Regions from separate parts of the Homo sapiens genome. Here region 2 is linked to region 1. Evidence: promoter capture Hi-C in human tissues and cell types (Jung and others, 2019). All regions are on one chromosome and are shown on one strand. The core of a region is centred on a gene start or on the middle of the fragment in contact, and the rest is flanking DNA. Distances in the headings are between cores, read along the strand shown. Region 1 holds the start of KLRK1 (killer cell lectin like receptor K1). Region 2 overlaps LOC105369657 (a long non-coding RNA gene).

Region 1 (3,614 bases), core at 716-3,215:
TTAAGAATCCTTTCCACACTCTGTCAGTTGGTTTAGGGACCTTTATATATGACAATAAAACTCTCCCTGGTGCTTAGCTTTATCATGGTATTTATTTCAGAAATCTTCTTTTAGGTATGTGTGGGGACTTCCCAGTTGGCTGTAAGTTGCCATTTGAACTAAACGAAATAGGTAGGATATTCAAATGTTCTTTTTTATCCTATTCCTATCCCCCTTTTCTCAATTCTGTATTTAAGAGACAATCTCTATTCAATCGAAAACTACATATATAAAAATAACTCTTCAGGAAATTGTGATTCAGGTTTTTCCCATAAAAAGCCTGCATTTACTCATTTATTCATTTCCTTTCAAAAACCAAATATTTGTTAAAATGTAGTTGTTAGAAAATATCAGCCTATATTTCCTCTATATAGATCTATTTTTACTATATAAAATAGCTAATAGAAAATGTTGATTAGCTGAAAAGAATCTTGGTATGTCAGAAAATAACATATTTTCTTCAACTTGTTTTATATTCACCTATCTTGTTTAATTTTGAATTTGTTTTATACTTATTCATTTTATATCACCTAAACTAAAAAGTAATTTCCAGCTGGGTGTGGTGGCTCACGTCTGTAATCTCAGCACATTGGGAGGCTGAGGCAGGAGGATCACCTGAGGTCAGGAGTTCGAGACCAGCCTGACTAACATGGTGAAACCTCGTCTCTACTAGAAATACAAAAATTAGCCAGGTGTGGTGGCACATGCCTGTAATCCCAGTTATTCTGGAGGCTGAGACAGGAGAATTGCTTGAACCCAGGTGGCGGAGGTTGCAGTGAGCCGAGATCGCCCCGTTGCACTCCAGCCTGGACAACAAGAGTGAAACTCCATCTCTTAAAAAAAAAAAAAAAAAAAGTAATTAATTTCCATGTGGGCAAAAACTTTCTTTTGGATTGTTTACTTTGACATTCTCAAGATCTAGAAAAGTGCATAGCAAATAGCATTCGCTAAAGAAAAAAAATGTTGAATAAATTTATTGTCCAACTTTAACACATCACCACATGAAAGCTGTTTTCCTTCCTTATATTTCAGAGTTTTAAGATTAATAGCTTTGGTTTTTGTTAAAATGTTATAATGTGTTCATCTTATATTACTTTATATGATGTCTTATGTTAGTATTTTAAATTAATAAACATAAAATATATATTTAGCTTATCTTGTTCATTGGTATCAATTCATATATTATTCTTATGTATACTGGGGTATATATTTAAGTTTCTAATTCTCCTGCATATGATGTAGATATGACAGAGATGCAATTTCATGTTTTTTATATTAAAATTTAAAAATTCCCAGGACTAATTTTTTGTAACTTAAAGGCCAGTGTGATAGTAACCCAGGACAAATTATTGAATAGGAGCTAATTTCCCACTTTATCTGCAATGTTACCTTATATTTTTTAATCTATGCACATGACTTTTTCTTGTCTGTATTTTTACCCTTCTCAATTTGTCTATCTATGCCCCACATGCCACTTTGCCTTTATTAATACGGTTTTAACATAGGTCTTACTATCTAGTAAAACAAGGCTCCCACATTTTCTTCATCTTCAATTGTGACTTTCCTAGTCTTGACTTTTGTAATTTAATGTACATGTAGAATTCTGCTTTGTAAGTTCTACAACAAAACCTGAGGTATTAACTGGAATTGAATTGAATCTCTAAAATATTTAGGATTAAATGGCATCATTTAAATTCATCATTTTCAAATCCTAAAATGTTATTTAAAATAATGGCAAAACTACAATTACTTTTGCACCAACCTAACATTTATCCAACAATGGGTGGTCTTAACTCTTTTACCAAATTAACAATATTTTTGTAGTGATAAGGCGGAAGTACTGTGGTTTATGTTTTTCCACAGGAAGATGAGATTATAATATTTGTCACATCTTTCTCAAAGATAGAAATTCACTAAGTATCTCCACTTTCAATTCTAGATCAGGAACTGAGGACATATCTAAATTTTCTAGTTTTATAGAAGGCTTTTATCCACAAGAATCAAGATCTTCCCTCTCTGAGCAGGTGTGTGTATGTGTGTATGTGTGTGTGTTTATTATTCAAGATATGAGAAATTATATTTCAACCTCAAAAAAATAAAAATATTTACACTATAAGGTAATTCTAATTGTTTCTTAGATGCTTGAATAGAACTCCTGAGGATACGGAATGCTTATCATTTCTGATGTATATTCTATCACTGTATCTGATGATAGGTAATTAGGATATACTTATTGAAGAATCAGAAGTTGTAATATTACTATAAGAAGAAGCCTTGTCTCTAAGCAAAACTAGAAAAATGAATCTTTACATTTAGGATGAGAAGAATTGAGATTCAATTTAAATTGTCAAATTTTTGAGTTTTCTGATGCTGTAGGGGGCACTTACCTTTGATACACATCTTTACATGCAAGGTGAAACAAGTTATATCTGTGCTTTCCAACTATCATAATCAAATATGAAATAGCTTTTATTTTTGAAATCTAAGCACTATGCTTATTTATTAAATGGTTTTTTCTGGAAGCTCTGCTGTGCATTGCTAAGATGTTACTATATAAACATGTGAGATTAGTTTTGTTAATGATGATGGTGATGATAATTTGTTGATGATGATGATATGGGCACGTTGGATTAAAATGCACTAGAAAAGGACATTCAACAAAAGTGCATATAACTTACCTGAGTTTAGCTTGCAGAAAGAAAACTAAATTATTGCCAGATAAAATAAACAACTGGAAACACTTGATCTTAGCTAAAAGGCCAAGAAGCAATAAACGACTATAAACAGAAAACTGGGTGTGTTGTTATCTAATATCAGTAAAGTAAAATATTGGTATTAAATATCTCAATGTAGGTGAATTAATAGGTTCATTATATTGTTATGACATTTTGAAGTAATTGGCGATTATTTTACAACCAAGAGAAATGTATAAAATTAATTTTGCCTGGCTTTATGTGAATTGTCATTTCTATTCTTTTCTTAAAGGCATGCACAGGGGAAAAGTTTCTGCATTTTACTTTTCTATTCAAAATATTTTATCTCACCACGGGAAAGAGAACAAAAAACAAATGCCCAGTTTTATTTTATTCAGGAATCCTTTGTGCATTGAAGACTTTAGATTCCTCTCTGCGGTAGACGTGCACTTATAAGTATTTGATGGGGTGGATTCGTGGTCGGAGGTCTCGACACAGCTGGGGTATGTTTTTACCACATAAGTGTGTAGTTTTGTTTTTATACAATTTTAAGATACCAAGAATTTCATACAAGCATATAAGGCATAGGCAAGCAATTTACTCTGATTCTTTTCATGTTCTATTTATGTTGATTTCATGTTATGTTCATATTGTATTTTAAATCAAGTCTTCCAAAACTTAAAAACTTTTTTCCCTTTATTTTATTAACTATATTATGGTAAAGTCGCTCACAACTTGGGACAGCTTGAAATAGTGAAATAGATGTGGAGTCAGACTTGAATTTTACTCAAACTTTTACCGCTCTCTAGATTTGAAGGGTCAATTTGCAACCTCTGTGTAGTTTAGTTTAGTTTCTTTTTCTATCAAATACAGGCATGAAAC
Region 2 (3,614 bases), core at 559-3,058, 140 kb before region 1:
TGTCATAGAATATCTGTTTCCATCCCTTTATTTTCAGTCTTTGTGTGTCTTTGTAGGTGAAATGTCTTTCTTGTAGGCAACAGATCATTGGGTCTTGCTTTTTAAATCCATTTAGCCATTCCGTGTCTTTTGATTAGAGAGTTCATTTACATTCAATGTTATTATTGATAAGTAAGTACTTACCCCTGCCATTTTGTTGTTTGTTTTCTGATTGTTTTGTAGTCTCTCTCCCTTCTTTCCTTCCTGTCTTCCTTTTAGCGAAGGTGATTTTCTCAAATGTTATGATTTAATTTCCTTTTTATTTTATTTATTTTATTTTATTTTTTGAGCTGGAGTCTCACTCTGTCACCCAGGCTGGAGTGGAGTGGCATGAACTCAGCTCACTGCAACCTCTGCCTACCAGGTTCAAGCAATTCTTCTGTCTCAGCCTCCCAAGTAGCTGGAATTTCAGGTATGCACCACCATGCTTGGCTAATTTTTGTATTTTCAGTAGAGATGGGGTTTGTCATGTTGGCCAGGCTGGTCTCAAACTCCTGACCTCAGGTGATCTGCCCACCTTGACCTCCCAAAGTGCTGGGATTACAGGTGTGAGCCACAACACCTGGCCTGCTTTGTGTGTGTGTGTGTGTGTGTATCTGTTGCATGTTTTTGAGTTGAGGTTACCATGAAAATTGCAAATACTATCTTATAACACATTATTTTAACCTGATTACAACTTAATACTGCTTGCAAATACAAATGAATTAACAAGAAAAAGGAAACTCATAAAAACTCTGTTTTAACTTCATTTCCATGCTTTTTAACCTTTGTTGTTTCTCTTTATGTGTTATTGTACTACATCTTGAAAAGTTGTTGTAATTATTATTTTGATTGGTTCATCTTTTATTCTTTCTACTTAAGATGAGTAATTTACAAACCACAGTAACAGTGTTATAATATGTGTGTTGTTCTGTGTACTTACTATTACCAGTGAGTTTTGTACCTTCAGAAGATGCTTTATTGCTTATTAACATCCTTTTCTTTCTGATTGAAGTACTCCCTTTAGCATTTCTTATAGGACATGTCTGGTATTGATGAAATCACTCAGCTTTTCTTTGTCTTGGAAAGTCTTTATTCCTCCTTCATGTTTGAAGAATATTTTCACCAGCTATACTGTTTATGCCTATTTTTTTTCCCCTTCAACACTTCAAATATGCCATGCCACTGTCTCCTGGTCTGCAATGTTTCCACTGAAAAGTCTGCTGGAAGATGTATTGGAGCTCCATTGTATGTTGTTTCTTTTCTCTTGCTGCTTTTAAGATCCTTTCTTTATCCTTGAAATTTGAGAGTTTGATTATTAGATGGCTTGACGTAGTCTTCCTTAGGTTAAATCTGCTTGGTCTTCTATAACTTTTGTGGACTTGGATATTGATATCTTTCTCTAGGTTTGGGAAGTTCTGTTATTATCCCTCTGAATAAACATTCTACTCCTTTCTGTTTCTCTACTTCCTCTGTAAGGCCAATAACTCTTAGATTTACCCTTTTCATGGTATTTTTTAAATCCTGCAGGGATAACTTTAGGTTTCTAAAAAACTTGCAGAGATAGTGTAGAAGGTTCCCATAGATCCTTGAGTGAGTTTCACTTTCCCCTAATGTTATTGTCTTACATTACCATAAGATGATACATCTTACATTTGTCAAAACTAGGCATCCTATACTGGTATGTTACTGTTAACTGTGCTGAAAACGTCATTCAGCTTTCACCCATTTTTCCCATGAATGTCTGTCTTCTGTTCTAGAATCATATCCAGGCCTCCACATTGTATTTGGTCATTACATCTCCTTCATCTCCAAATTATGACCATCTTATTTTTTATTAAACACCTCAAGTAATGATAGACTCAGTATCTATACTTCTGGAAAACCAAAAATTTTTTAAAGTTTTTTTTGCATTATTGCTTCCATCAAAATGACATTAAAAATTGGTCACTAGAAAACATAAGAGAGTCATTTTGGTATTTTCTGTATAAAACATAACTCAACCATTATTTCATATATTCAAACTCATCCATTATTTCATATAAACCATAACTGACCATTATTTCATAACTGTCAGTTTAAAACAGGAAATACAATTAAAGATATGTAAAAATGCAAAATATGAGAAAAACAATCCCTATTTTTATTATATAATGTTTTGTTTTTGGTGACAGGTTTACTGAACTAAAGATTCTCCCTTTGCCTTAGAAGCTAAGCTACAGTCACCTAACTTTTACCAATTTAAAAATTTTAAAGATAGGTGAAAATAACAGTATATAGGAAATACACAATATTAAAAATAAAAAATAAAAACCTATTACCTCTTGGATTTTTGTTTTTGTTTTTGAAAAATCATTTCAAAATTTTATGCATGCTGCCTGCTATATTATAAAGTTCACATTAATTCAGCTATATCCTGATATCATTCTGCTGTGTTCTATTCATGTTATCATGAGCCTCTATCTCTCTCTCTTATTTTATGTGCTTATTCACTTATTTCATCTTGGGGTTGTATCTTGATTTCTATTAACTTTATTCTTTTATTAAATGTCATTTCAGTTTTTAAAAAATTTAATACTGGCTAGACTTGGTGAACATAAATATAATTTCAGTGGACATTAAAAGATAAACACAAGTTGAGGTAGAAAAGAAGTATAGGAAACAATTGAAGAAACATTAAAAATACATTGATATTTTTGGGTACAAAAGTGTGTGGGTGTTTTAAGGAGAGAGGAAAGCTTTGGGAAAATGGTCTTTATAATCAACCAATTAATAATAACCTCATCCTTTATTCAAAATAGTTACAAAGTTAAAATCCTTAAAAGAAAATAGATATGATATACCTATACTCTGACAATAATATTTTATAGATATTGTTGATAAAATATCTAAGCCTATATAGTTTGCTAGATTTTCAAGAACCTCTTATATTTATTTTATTTAATAAACCTTGAAGTTTAGTATTAAAATGCCAAAAACTAAAATTGTTAATAATTACCTGTCTTTGGTGGTTTGCCCCATACTTTTAGGGACAGGTGTATATCAGTTGCTCTATTAATATTAAATGATGATAAATGTAAGCCTATACAACTCTTAAAAAGAGTGGAAGCAACACATTCCTATAAATATGTTATGGACTAATTTTTAGAATCCATTTGACACTTGTTATGGTTCATAACATATACAAATGCTATTAAATGCATTCTGGTTAAATGATACATTTGGAACTGGGGAATTTGAGGTAAAAACATACATAGAGATGTACAGCAGCCAAGCAGAGTAACTAATGGCTGCGAACCTGGAATATCATAGTTCATGGGCGTGCTTAAAAACTGTTTACCTTTAAAAGAAAGTTCAATTGTCTGGAGAATTTCCAGGATGCATTGTCTGTCATAACTTTATTTAGTTAGAAACCTACTCCCTGAAAGCAATCAGTTGATTCCTAGTAGAGAAACAGAATAAGCCGAAGGCAAACCTACAAGAGAAGCAACTAGAGAATCTAGTTTTGTTACCACTATTTAGAAGGGGATAAGATAGTTTTGCTTTAGGGTAATGAGAGATGCATTCTCAAACCATGAAGAAGTGCCTTTGTAAAG

The links. The method cuts DNA at HindIII sites, captures the fragments that hold promoters and counts their contacts. A contact is called where the count stands out against the background at its distance.
Region 2: a fragment that was not itself captured here is called in contact with the fragment with the promoter of KLRK1 in region 1 in 1 of the 25 tissues and cell types used here (stomach).

The regions. Positions count from the first base shown.
Region 1 is chr12:10,388,392-10,392,005 of GRCh38, reverse strand. It overlaps KLRK1 (killer cell lectin like receptor K1), which reads left to right and starts at 1,965. Exons shown (of 8, transcript NM_007360.4): 1 at 1,965-2,063; 2 at 3,131-3,235. The coding sequence starts at 3,196. It overlaps KLRC4-KLRK1 (KLRC4-KLRK1 readthrough), which reads left to right. Exons shown (of 13, transcript NM_001199805.1): 6 at 115-171; 7 at 3,131-3,235. The coding sequence starts at 3,196. The region is part of intron 3 of KLRK1-AS1 (KLRK1 antisense RNA 1); the gene reads right to left. The HindIII fragment of the contact is 5,458 bases long and covers 1-3,614 here.
Region 2 is chr12:10,529,558-10,533,171 of GRCh38, reverse strand. All of the region lies in intron 1 of LOC105369657 (a long non-coding RNA gene), which reads left to right. Among named protein-coding and RNA genes, the nearest start is that of LINC02446, 22 kb to the left of the region's middle. The HindIII fragment of the contact is 6,729 bases long and covers 1-3,614 here.